Regions from separate parts of the Homo sapiens genome. Here region 2 is linked to region 1. Evidence: promoter capture Hi-C in 16 types of primary human blood cells and fetal thymus (Javierre and others, 2016). All regions are on one chromosome and are shown on one strand. Each heading gives the region's core, a stretch centred on a gene start or on the middle of the fragment in contact. The rest is flanking DNA. Distances are from core to core; before and after follow the strand shown. Region 1 holds the start of ATG10 (autophagy related 10). Region 2 overlaps SSBP2 (single stranded DNA binding protein 2).

Region 1 (6,768 bases), core at 1,989-4,488:
AACATCAGAGAATAATGGATAACAAAAAACAGTGATAAATTGTACAACCACTGTTTAAAGAATTAGTATGGATTAAAATAATTAAAATTGCATATATTACTATGTATTAAGAACTAGTAACAAATCCTCAGAGCAACTTTTTGAGGTAAATTACTAGGATTTTCTTTATTTTATAGATAAGGAAATTGAGACAGAGAGGGTAACTTGTCCAAGGTAACACAGCTGTTAAGTGTAGTAATTTGACCTAAGGAAGTCTGGAACCAGAGCCTGGGCCCTACAGTAGTTAGATTTCAGTTAATCCTTGAATTATAGGAGGATATAGAAAGAAAGAAATAGAAGGGATGGGGCAGTGGCAGTGAACCTTGGAACAGATTGAAATGAGGTAGACCAGTAAAGAACCTGAATGGAGAGTATAGATTGAGGGATATTGAGAATCTGGGGACAGGGTGCAGGAAGTTTACAGTCTTAAAACTCAAAGGAAGCTTGGAGACATAGCTCTCGCCTTTAGTCCTCACTACTCAGGAGGCTGAGGCAGGAGGGCTGCTTGAGCCAGGAGTCACGGCTGTGTAGTGCCTTCTAATTGTGCCTCTAAATAGCCACTGCACTCCAGCCTGGGCAACTTAGAGACCCCACTTCTTAAAAAACCAAAAGAAGAAACCAAAAAACCCAAAGGAGATTCCATTTAAAACAATTGGCAATAGGAAACCAGTGTAGGTTCTTGAGCTCAGAAGAGATGATAAAAAGGTTTTCTCAGAAAGATGTTACATGACAGTGATATGAAATAACCCTAGCTTCAAAGCTACACTCCTATTACTAAGCCCTCTTCCTGGATCCTATAAAACTATGTGATCAGGTAAGCACATTAGAGAAGTCTTGTCTCTGCAGTTTTCAGCAACCATTCCCTAATTAAGATTCCTTCAGGTACAGCTTATTCTCCTATTCTCCATTCCCCAACTTTCTAATTGCTTTATTATACTCAGGCTGCTTGTCCCCTGAAAACATTTGTTTTCAATAGATAATCACCAAATGATCTCCATGGCTTTTTTTTTCTTAAGGTTCCCTGATTATATTTATGATTCAAACACAACCTCCTGGGTCCCAAACACATCTCTAGGTTTCAAAGATAATCAAATCAAGCCCATCTTAAGAAATCTTCTGTAAGCTTTACTCTCCTTGTTTTTCCTAAAGGGCTGCTTTACCTTTCTCAGAAATGTATTAGGCATCAGGAACTACTGTCGACATGTAGTTTGTCACAAAACATTATACATAACTTGAATGGCCCACCATGTACCAAAATCTCAGTTAACCTTATCCTAAATAAAACAGGAGACAAGGGAAATAATCTTTTAACACTCCACATTCAAATGTATGCAATTTAGAACTACTATTTCCACTAATTTCTTCAATTTAAAATATCAATAACAATTTTTAAACTCTGCAATTTGCAAGACTTTAATTTTAATTTCTCAATACTCAGGATTTATTTTTTGGTCAAAGTTCTGTAACATTTCCTCTGGTCACTGTTTAACCTTTCTGAAGCAATGAGAAAGGATTCTACTTGGAGTCCTAAGATGTATTTGAGTACCACACAGGGCCTATGTCCTTCCATCCTGAGAAGCATAAACTTGTTTTTGCCACTAAAGAATAGAGACCATTGTCCAATAACAAAAGTTATAAATATGACTCAAAATGAACCTGTGACAAAGATTTATTAAACTCACAATGGAACAAGCTGAATGGCTTAGTGTGCTCAAAAGCATTTCAGGAACTGAGCATAAACACTGAAGAAAGGATGGTAAGTTTGATAGGTTAGACAGAAAAATGGTTAATATTGGCCGGGCGCGGTGGCTGACGCCTGTGATCCCAGTACTTTGGGAGGCCGAGGCAGGCGGATCACAAAATCAGGAGTTCCGGACCAGCCTGGCCAATATGGTGAAACCCCGTCTCTACTAAACTTACAAAAATTAGCTGAGCGTGGTGGCGGGCACCTGTAGTCCCAGCAACTCGGGAGGCTGAGGCAGGAGAATTGCTTTAACCCGAGAGGCAGAGGTTGCAGTGAGCCGAGATCGTGCCACTGCACTCCAGCCTGGGCGACAGAGCAAGACTCTGTCTCAAAAAAAAGAAAAGAAAAATGGCTAATATCCTACAAGGCACTAAAACTACAACCTTTAGGAGTACTGTATTTTTTTCTCTCCCACTCAGAAATAATTTGCATCTCCATTAATGAAAAAGATGTTAACTACAAAGCCTAGGCCCTAATCAATATCATCATGCCAAACAAAATATAGTCCCCTAGACATCTAAATCATCTTCAGGTGGGCCTGTTAGGCTCCATTTTGACTCTGAAAAAAACATGCTGTCCTTTTGCCTTATTTCCAATACTTTTGTAATTTTTACCGCCACTAAAAGTTTCTATAAATCAGTCAACTATTCCTTTATCATTCTCCGGTCCTCCCCGCCAATTCTTGATTTTATAGGTTTTTTGGGAGGTTTAAAAAAAAAAGAAAGACCTGTTGGCTCTAAATATCAAGTTATTCCTCCTGATACTTAATCTGAAACTTCAAATTAAGTTGGACTCAGCCACTGGAAGCCCCAGTAATTTAATACTGTTTCAACCAAAGATTTGCTATCAGTATGTGGATTTTAAACACAAAGTAGTTACTACCCACTTCGAGGGTGCTTTGGGTACTGGGCCAGGTGTGCTGGTGACACCGTGTGCGCGACGGGGACCGGGTCCCCGAGGAGGGAGTGTCCTCGCCCTTCCCCGCTCGCGGCGGCCAGCACAGGCCTGCAGTTACCGGCGGGGACCCGCTTCCCCGGCCTTTTGTTCAGGACTGGGCTGTTTCCCGCCTACCCGCGCGTGCCCTTCCTCCCTGTCCTAGGAGTGGGGCAAGGACCGTGTGGGAAGCAGAGCCGGGAGGAGACAACCGGCAAGGGCTGTGGGGAATACTCACCCCTCTCCGCTCGGCCCCTGACCCCGCAGCCCAGCCCGGCGAGGGCGGGGCGACGGGGCCAGGGGGAGGAGAGCTGGGGAGAGGGACCCAGCGCCCTGCGAGGCCACTGCCGCGCCGGTGACCCTACGGAACTGAATGATGGGACTGCGGGGGCCTCGAGGGCGGAGGAAGAGCCGAGCCAGCGCGCCCCGAGGCCAACCAGAAGTGGCCGTGGCCTCCTTCAGTCAGGTCCGCGGCCTCCTTCAGTCAGGTCCGCCACGGCCGAGTCGGAGCGTGCGCACTGCGCCTTCCCGCGCCGTGGGGGCCGCCTAGCGCAGGCCGGTGACGTGATCGGCCGCGCGCTCTGGGCAGGGCGGGGCTGAGACCCAGGCCGGGACTGGGAGCGGGTGGAGAGGAGGGAAGCGAGACCTCCCCGCCGCCCGCGACCACCCCCGCCAAGGCCCCGCCCCTCGCCTGGCGGGCAGCTCTCCCCCGCCAACCCCCACCTCCAACCCAACGCAGGCGGTGCCCTCCGCGGAGCACAAAGGCGGCTCGTTGACGGGGGAGCGGGTTACTAGCATCCCCCTAAGAGGTTGGGGAACCATGCCAGCATGCTTACGCTACAAAAAGTCCTGTAAACACCACAATTAAGCACAAGCACGGCTACCCCTTGAAAACTTACGGATGGAGGGAGAAGTTAGGAATTCGAATATTGACAATAGTACCATCTGTGGCACATATCCCAGAGGAGAAAAAAAAAAAACTAGCAGCAAAATTAAATTGGGGCGAAACGATGGGGATAAAGACTAGAAAAAATGTAGGAGTAACAGGGGTAATCGAACTGAAATAGCAGACATCTGAAAGAAAACTAGCATCTGCTCCTTCTAACAACAGAGTTAAATTTGTTGGAAATGAAAGGAGAAAATGCAGGCGAAGAAGTGAAAGGAAAACCTGCCTTCAAACTACATGACATAGTTTTTTGATCTTGTACTACAGTTGTGTAAGATGTCACCATTGGAGGAAACTAGGTGATAGGTACACGGGACTCTAGGTGCTGTAGTATTTTTGCAATTTCCTGTGTCTATAATTATTTCCAAATAATAAGTGTTTTTAAAAGGAGAGAATACTGATCAGTGGCGACCAGGGCAAAGGGCTGGAGGAAGGGGGTGACTGAAAAGGAGCTTGAGAGCTTCTATACCGTGATTGTGTTGGTGACTAAACCACTGTTTGACAAAACCCATAAGAGGTATAAATTTTACTGCATGTGAAATAGTTTAAAACTCAAAATGATGCGACTAATAAAAATGAACTTACACTAACATTTTTTAGCAACTATGGATATAAATTAATTGGTAGCTGCCAATTTAGATTATCCATTTAATTTTTTTAAAAGCACAAGGCAGTGTGTTCTGAATGAGAGCTTAAGTAGACCAGGTGTCTCCATCAACTTTAAGTATTTACCTTAAAAACGTATTTCACAGATGAAAACAAGAATGCGGCTGGGCGCAGTGGCTCACGCCTGTAATCCCAGCACTTTGGGAGCCCGAGGTAGGAGGATCGCTTTAGCCCAGGAGTTCAAGACCAGCTATGGGCAAGGCAGTGAGACCTCATCTCTACAAAAATTTTTCAAAATAACAATAAATTTTTAAAAAAAGAATGCATTGCTTTACATTGTACTCCATATTTTAGAAACACAGTGCACCAACCACCATGTTAATTTAAAAAAAATTTTTTTTGCACTGGAGGTGTTTTAAAGTTTCATAATTCACATGCCAAAAACAAAGAAACTAAAAGAAATAACTCAGTTAACCTCCATGTACTTCCTCTCATCATATCCCTCATGGCAAAGAATGATATTGGCCTGTTTATGTGTTTACCCTACAACACTATAAACTGCTTTAAGGCTACGGTCTGTCATCATAGCATTTCAAGGTTCAAGCAGGGCTCCTGTAGCTCTCCTCTCTGATCGCTGAGGTTCACCGAAAAATCTACTCACAAAGGACAGAGTAATTGGAGGAAATGCATGCAAGTTTATTTAGCATATATACATGAGAACCTTCAGAATGAAGACCCAAAGATACAGGGGAAATTGTAATGTTCATTTGTACATCCAACAAAGTATGGACAGCCATGTAGAAATATGATTGGACAAAAGGGTATGCTCTAATGCTAATAGCCTGAGTGGGGAAACCCAGCAAGGCCTGTCTGTCTAGATTCTTCTTGGACTCTCTGGGCATGCATTCCTTCCTTCTGGGTGTAGGGCGGGACCCTCTCTGCAATGAGGGTCTTAGGACCTACAGTCAAAAAAGGTAGATCAGATAATTTCTTTATGGCCAGTTTTTACAAAGAAAGGCGGGAGAAAATTAAAGTAATATTTCCAGGATTTATGACTGGCTTTGGGGAAAAGAGGTTCTAGTTTCTATGGCCTGCCTAGTTTCTATGGCTAGTGTCAGGGGAGAATGGGACCAAGAGACAGGAAGGCAGGAGAAGGTCAGAGAAAAACTTTTGCTTCTGAGGCTGCTTCTGAGAGTTTCATTGTGGGGTATTATTTTCTAGTCCCAATATTCCTAACTAGTAGTAAGTATTCTTTGAATAAAACAAGGAATTGATCACAAAATTTATTGAACGCCTATTATATTCCAGAAGATTTATATGTACATAGTTAATCTCATAACTTCATGACATACCCATTTTATAATATCTTAATTATTAAATTCTTTTAATACTTATTTTATTAGATTTCTCTGTTTCATTTGGACATGTTGCTCACTTCTAAAAAGTCTTGCTTCCTTTCACTTACGTAAAACCCAGTCCCCTGATTCTCCTTCCAGCTCTGTGGCCATTCTTTTTTTTAAAGACAAAGTCTCCCGCTCTTTCACCCAGGCTGGAATGCAATGGCCTGGTCATAACTTACTGTAACCTGGAATTCCTGGCCTCAAGCAATCCTCCCACCTCAGCCTCCCAAAGTGCTGGGATTACAGATGGGATTACAGATGCGGCCATTCTTTTTTCTCATTGTTTTAGGCTTTTGTTTGTCCATTATACTTTAATGCTCATGTTTCACACAGAGTCTTCTAAAACTTGAAACTTCAGCTTTTTTGTTTTTTGTTTTAGTTTTCTGATACTCATGTAAATTTTTTTTAATTCAAAACAGGGTTATACAAACTGCATTACATTCAAAGTCATTTTCCTTTAACCAATAAACACTTTTATTACCAAAAATTACAAAGCAGTATAAATGTGTCTTTCAAAATATAATTACAGGATTTATTTTAAAATATAATTCATAATATCCTTTCAATAGTATGGTCCTATAAAGGGATACAAATTTAAAGTTCCATGGTAAATGTCTTATTTTCTCAATTTTGTCAGTTCTTATTACTTGCATGCATATATCCTTTCTGCTCATATCCCATAGGTCACATCTATATTCAAGGAAGGAAGAAAATGTAGCATCTAGCCATGGGCTCAGTCAAACCTTGACAGGGTGGGATTGTTTTATTATTAAAAGAAAGAAGAGAAGAATAGATACTAGGGAACAAAAGCTATCTCTACTGCAGCTTATAGTAGGCAGATCTCTTCCACCACCCTCCAGGAGGTTCTTAGGAAAAGATAAATTATATAAAAGAGTTAGAGGAGGTAATCTGATTGGATGGCAGAGATAAGAAACTTGTCTTGAAGCTGTGTGTGCATAGCACTTACTTAAAAGTGTGAGAGAAAAAAACACTAGTAGGCAAAACTATAGAGACAGTAAAAGATCAGTAGTTGCAAGAGTTTGGGGGAAGGGAGGCAAAGAGGGAAGAGATGAATACATGGAGAATAGGGCATTTTTTAG
Region 2 (6,768 bases), core at 2,282-4,781, 450 kb after region 1:
AAAAAAATGTGAGCCCTAGTCTCTTGAGACATTCAGATCCAGTTGGATGGGAACCGAGTCAGGGAATCTAGCAAATAGAAGAAAGAAATGAACTCTCTTTTGGCACAAGGATTAAAACTAGATCCTAATTACTTTGAATCAGAGTACAAGGTCAAAATAGAGACCATCAGCAAGTTGATATGAATGGTGAATCCTAGATTATGGTTTCAGTTGTATTTATATTTTCCCTGCCATAGGAACTAGCTTCACTACAGTCTAGATGGAATTGGTGGGACCTTGTCAACAATTAAAGGGCCATTCCTTTGTGAATGAGAGGAAGGCAGAGTTAGAGGCCTGGCTGGCAAAATAGCCGAAGAAAAGATGCAGTGTGTGCCATTCTTCTTCCCCTCCCTGTGCTTCCCTCCTCTTAACTGTGGAAGGGAAAAAACTATTCACACAAGGCACAATTCAAAGCCACTAAAAGAGCTATGAGACCAGGGGAACCACAACACTTAGCTTTGTAAAACATGGAATTTATTTTTAACCAGAAGAAGAATTGCTTTAACCAAAATGATAGAATTAGCAAGTACATACTGCAATAGGCCAAGTACAGTAACGTTTTAGGATCCGTAGTTTACTAGTTTCTAGATACCTCATGAAAAACTATTATCCAAAATGAAATAGTCATTTAGGAGCAGGAGTGGGAGAATATTAGTTTTCAGTTGCTGCCATAGCAAATTACCACAAATTTAGCAGCTTAAAACAATGAGTTTATTATCTCACAGTTTTGTAGGTCAGAAGTCTGGGATTGCTGGGCTGATTTCTTTGTTCCAAGTTTCACAAGGTTGAAATTAAAGTGTGGGCCTGCCAGACTCTTACCTAGAGGCTCTGAGAAGAATTCACTTTCAAGCTTATTTAAGTTCTGGGCAAAATTCAGTTTCTTGTAGTTGTAGGAATCAGTGAGGGGTGCCCTAAGCTTCACAGGCTTACAGGATTTAGAAGCCCCACATTCACAGGCTCTGGGGATTAGGACATAGATATCTTTGAGGGGCCATTCTGCCTACCACAGAGGGGAAAAAAGTTTTTCCTAAGGGATGACTATAATTATCCAGTTTATCTTACTAGGTGTTAGTAAGAATAGTAAGAACTGTACCTAGACTCTCAAATAGAAGCCCTGGGATTTTTACAATGAATTAAATCATTTATTGGAAAGAGACAAAGGCTTCCATCTTTTAGGTCAAAAAGGAGAAAGTAGGGAATGACCAGAATATATAATGGTTTACAACTTGTGAAAGCGGAGACAATGTTAATATTTCTAACACCTTTTCCTTGTGTTTCTCTTTAAACTATGGTATTTCGAAATGCTCTTTAAGGTTATTTTATTAAGTATTTGGCTAAATGTTATTTGTCTGTGTGTTGGCGGTAGGGAGTATATTTAATGGAAAAGCTCACATATACACCTAGAGTTTGACCATGTGGCTGTAACGCTGATTTATTGCTCTAGTAAAAATTTACCCAACCTCTGAAATTCATACGAAGACAATAAATGCTTCTTGAGAGCTGAACATATAACATGAATGCTAAAATATCTCAATGATATTTCATTTTTCAACAGAAAGTTTTTATGCTATTTAACTTTTTTAATAACTCATTTTGAGAGGTAATTGCACTAAATTGTGACTTTTGTGTAATAATGAATCAGTACGTCTTAGCCTCAGGCACATAGAAGGCACCTACTATTTGGGATGCACGTACAAATGTGAATGTATCACCCAGAGATTTTTTTCTCGAAACAAATTGCTTATGTTACACTCTTTCTTGTTATCTACCTTTTCTGGTTAAGCTAAATACAGAATGCAAGAAGCTCAGTTTCTGCACCATTAAACATGGCTGCTTATTCTGAAAATTAACAGTGAAAAATCAAAGGCCACCTCCTAAAGTATTTTAATACTTTTAATGAAATTTTAATTGTTTTTATCAGAGTCCTTTTGCACTTCTCTTGCACATAAAACATTTATTTGGCAAGAGTGGTTGCTTCTCCCTTGTTACCTATCAGACTTCCCATGTTTCATGGCTTCCATATGAAAAGTTCGCCTTTTGTAGAAATCACCAGCCAGTCACAGCACTCTTATTTTCATTTGCATGGCAAATACCAGCTACAATATTTAGATCACCAACTCTTTGGCCCTTTATCTGTTTTTAGATGCTAAGGATCTACTTCTTTGTGGAATATTTTGGTTTTGTTTATTTGATTTTGTTTTTGATGTTATTTCTGGGTCTCTCTCTTGCTCTTTTGGAAGCCTAAAGGATTGAATACTATTCTGTGGATTCTTTGTGAAAATAACATGTAAAATATTTTTGTGATTGAAAAACAGACCAAAAAAAGTAGCACAGTGAATGATACTGGTTCTCCAGACTGTGAGTGGGTGACTAAGTGAGGTGGCCCAGGGTAGAGTACGTGGTGCTAAAAATAAATTTGTGTCCCTGTGCAAACAAATGCCCAGGAATAATGTAAATGATTTCTAGGTTATTTCTAGTACCTAACTTTCCAAAATAGAAAAACTTGTTCTTCATAGTCTGAAAATTAAAATGCTTCAAATCTTATTTTATTGAAATGAATTATTTTAAAGTTAGAAATATCTGCATTTTATTTAACAAATTTTAGGGATTAGGTTTATTTGAAGTAAACTTAATATGTGGTCATATTTTCTAGCTATTGACAAAACTGGGTTTGTGTGTGTGTGAGTAAACAATCATTTTCATTTATGTTAGAAATAAGACATTCCAGAAAGTTTATAAAAATTGTATTTAAAAAAATCACTCAGGTACGTTACTCTAAGCTAATACTATTTATTCACCTACAGTCTTTTATACGTTACCTTTTATCATTTGCATAACTAAAATCATGTTACACTCAATTCTGTATTTGGTATGCTTCACATGGCATTATATCACCAACGGGTTCCCACATTTCTCAAATAATGCCATTTGTAAGCATTGTTTTTAATGGTTGAATCATGTTCCATAATTTAGATGTACTGCAATTTACGCATTATATTACTGATGAATTTTTGGGTTACTTTGAATATTTCTTACTGTAAATATATCACAGAACACATTTTATGTATACTGTTTTTCTCACCGTTCAGAATTTATATTTGGATAGTTTCGGAAAAGAAGGGTCACTTAGTCAAATTTATTAATATTTTTATAGCACATGATATATACATGTAATGTGATTTCTACAAGTGTACTAGTTTCCCATGATACCAATAAACTGTAAAAATCCTTCTGGCAAGATTCTTAAGCATATTTCCCCAGTCATCAATAACATTGCAACTGTTTATCTAGTTGTTAATAACATTTGCAAAAAATGACCCTTGTGAGGTTTACCAGATCTTTGCTTTACACCTATTAACTAAAAAGATTTTCCCCAACTTTCCAACATTACAACAAAAAAGAAACTAAGTACGAACATTGGAAAGGTTCACATTATTCCAGGCAAGTAATTTAAAGAGACCAATACCTAGATATAGAATTGAAACATCTGAGAATTAAAAGTATCAGGAAAATGTCCTTCAAATCTTTAGAAGATAAAAACAGATGATATCCCAAGGAACAAAAATCAAGGTGGTATCAGACTTCTCTGTACCACTAAATACTAGACAACAGTAGTTAACTATAGTTTGATGAGTGTCATCAAAGACACTTTCCTATATATAAGGATTTGGAAAACAATATCCATTTACTCTCTGTTAAACTAAGAAATGTATAAAAATTAAAACTCAAGCATAGTGAAGTTATGTTATTAAAAAATTAGATAAAGTTGAAGTCATTATTTTGGATGCTAAGAGTATGGTTACAAAATTGAAGGTTAAGGTCAAAAATTATTACTGAAGAAGAGATGATAAAAACAAAAATGTATGCCTAAAACACCAGATGTTTATAATAAGGATTGGGACATGGAAGAGGGAGATATAGAATAGGAAAAATAAGCTAGCTTCTTCATTTTTCATAGGTAAAGGCAAACAATATTGTTTGTCTTAACTTTAATACCTTTAAAGCATAGGATAAAGAAAGTTTTTTTTCTGATTTTAAAGGACATCTCATTAGATGCATTTTAGAAACTTTTCTACTAACAAGTAAAACAGTTAAATAAAATATAGCCATAAAGTTTAAAAATAAATGGATGGGAGATGATTTATTATGCAAACACAAAAGGAAAGCTGAGCTTGCAATATTAATTTTGGACAAAATAGATTCAAGGCAGTGATTACTAAACATGAAAAAGAAAGTGACTTAATAAAGGATAGAATCCACAGTAAAGATAAACATTGTGCTAATGAACATAGAATTAAAATATGTAAGGCAAACATTGGTAGAGGCACAAGGAGAAATGGACTGACAACAGTGTGGGCATTGTATATATATTTGAAAGAGCAAGGGACAAAAATTAGAGACAATATGAAGATATTAAACCAATAGATTAAAATGTAGACAGAGAATAAGGATATTTACTAAGTATCCATGGGAAATTATAACAATCATTGATTAGACCACAAAAAAAATTGTTTAATAAATTTCTAAATACAAAAATTGTATAATACATCTTACCTGGCCACAATTGGAAAACTAGAAAAAACAAATTAAAAAATAAAACCTCCAACTATTTGTGAATTAAAGCATATCTTTTATTACATCTGCAAACTTGATATTGGTATTCTCATTTTTTTCGTAAATCATTGAATTACTGTAATATTCATTGCCAGTTGCATTCAATAACTGGCAAATAAATTATAATCATTAGATGGCTTAAGAAAAAAATTGTGAACACCAATGTCAAACTTTGCAGATGCAACCAAGGGTAGATTCAGAGCCAAATTTGTAGTTTTATATTCTTTGCATTTTAAAAAGGGGAAAATAGACCAGGCGTGGTGGCTCACGCCTATAATCCCAGCACTTTGGGAGGCTAAGGTGGGTGGATCACTTGAGGTCAGGAGTTTGAGACCAGCCTGGCCAACATGGTGAAACCCTGTCTCTACTAAAAATACAAAAAATAGCTGGGCGTGGTGGCAAGTGCCTGTAGTCCCAGCTAATTGGGAGGCCGAGACAGGAGAATTACTTGAACCTAGGAGGCAGAGGTTACAGTGAGCCAAGACAGCACCACTGCACTCCAGCCTGGGCAACAGAGTGAGACTCCATCTCAAAAAAAAAAAAAGAGGGGGGAAAATAGCTACTAATTTAATTAAGATGTTTGAAAATAAATAAAACCTTTAAAAGGCTGGAGAATGCAAATAATTTGTTAAAAAGAAGTAAACATGTTAATGAAACAGAAAAAAAGTAAATTAATAGACCAATTCCTGGCAAAGATGATGAGAATGCTAATTCAGTTTAAGAGGGAGAAAATAAATCATCATCTCTGGGGGCCTACAATTCAGAAAGACAGTCCAGGGCAGGCGGGCAGACTCTGCTCCACGAAGTCATCCAGAGATTGAAACTAGCAGGTGCTCTGCCATTGTATAAGGCATCCTTTTTTTTTGGTCTGCATGGCAGAAATTAAATCTCTGAAACATTTGTGTTCCAGACAATAGGAGGAGAAAGAAAGGAGGGAGCATTACAAACAAGATCTTAAGACCAATGTTCTGGAAGTGACATGTGTCTCTTCTGCTCATATTCCATCAGTAAGAACCTGATTTTTGGTGAGAACACAGGGGACTGAGAAATGTAATATAGCTGGGATGCCATGTGCCTGGCTGGTAGAAGAAAGGAAAAACATATTTTTGTGGTCTACTTAGCAGTGTCTCTCACACCTGCTACAGTGGACCTTTATAAATTATGTAAAAGTAGTGTATATATGGATAAAACTAAATATTTCAGTGACATGAAGTGTTCTGAGAAAATGTAAATGAACCAAATTGAAGAAAAGAGAAGTAGAAAATATGAAAAGATAATAATTCTTTCCAACATTGCCTTTGTCTAAGGCAGTTTTACTGCTTTACTGCTGTGTCTTTTAACTTTCAATAAGTAGATAAATACCATATTATAGAAACTTCTTCAGAGCATTATAAAAAACAATTTGCCATCAATTCCTTTTGAAAAGGTAGAATAATCCTGATGCTCAAGCTTGAAAAATATAATACATCAAAGGACATTCTAGACCCATCTCATTGAGAATAGAGATGTAAAACTCCTACATAAAATATTACCAAATATAATTCAGTAGCCTATTAAATGCATCATGCATGATGATCAAGCATGACTTATCTCAGAAATACAATGAAGATTTAAGAAAACTATCAATATGTGATTACTTATATCATGCTTCCCAAAAGAAACACTAAATAATACTACTCCAAAAATGAAAAGGCAAAAAGCATATTTTCTTATTCCTGATTTCTTTGAAAATTGTTTTTTATAGTACTAGGCAAAGGATGATTTTTTAGTATGATAAATAATATGTCCTCAACCAATAGCCAAAATATTTTACTGTGCTTTACACTAAAGTTGCCAACATAAGATACCTACTATCATTATTTTAAGTGTTTCTCATAAAGTACCTACAGATGGCTTATGTCTTAGTTCATTCTGTGCTGCTATAACAGAATATCCGAGACTGGGTAGTTTATAAAGAACATAAATTTATTTATTATAGTTCTGGAGGCAGGAAAGTCCAAGATTAAGGCACCAGCATCTGGGTCTGGTGAGGGCTTTCTTGCAGCATCCTCACATGGCAGAGGGAAAGCTACAAAAAACTCCTTCCATCAAGCAAGCCCTTTTATAAGGACGTGT

Evidence for each region. Contacts are between HindIII fragments. The CHiCAGO score rates a contact against its expected background, and 5 or more counts as called.
Region 2: a contact is called between a fragment that was not itself captured here and the fragment with the promoter of ATG10 in region 1, in 10 of 17 cell types (non-activated CD4 T cells, total B cells, total CD4 T cells and 7 more). The highest score is 8.3, in non-activated CD4 T cells.

The regions. Positions count from the first base shown.
Region 1 is chr5:81,968,493-81,975,260 of GRCh38, reverse strand. ATG10 (autophagy related 10) reads right to left here and starts at 3,238. Exons shown (of 8, transcript NM_031482.5): 1 at 2,955-3,238. RefSeq lists silencers at 2,838-3,077, 3,248-3,577 and enhancers at 2,592-3,147, 3,148-3,705. The HindIII fragment of the contact is 10,147 bases long and covers 1,165-6,768 here.
Region 2 is chr5:81,518,419-81,525,186 of GRCh38, reverse strand. All of the region lies in intron 4 of SSBP2 (single stranded DNA binding protein 2), which reads left to right. Among named protein-coding and RNA genes, the nearest start is that of ACOT12, 130 kb to the right of the region's middle. The HindIII fragment of the contact is 5,147 bases long and covers 958-6,104 here.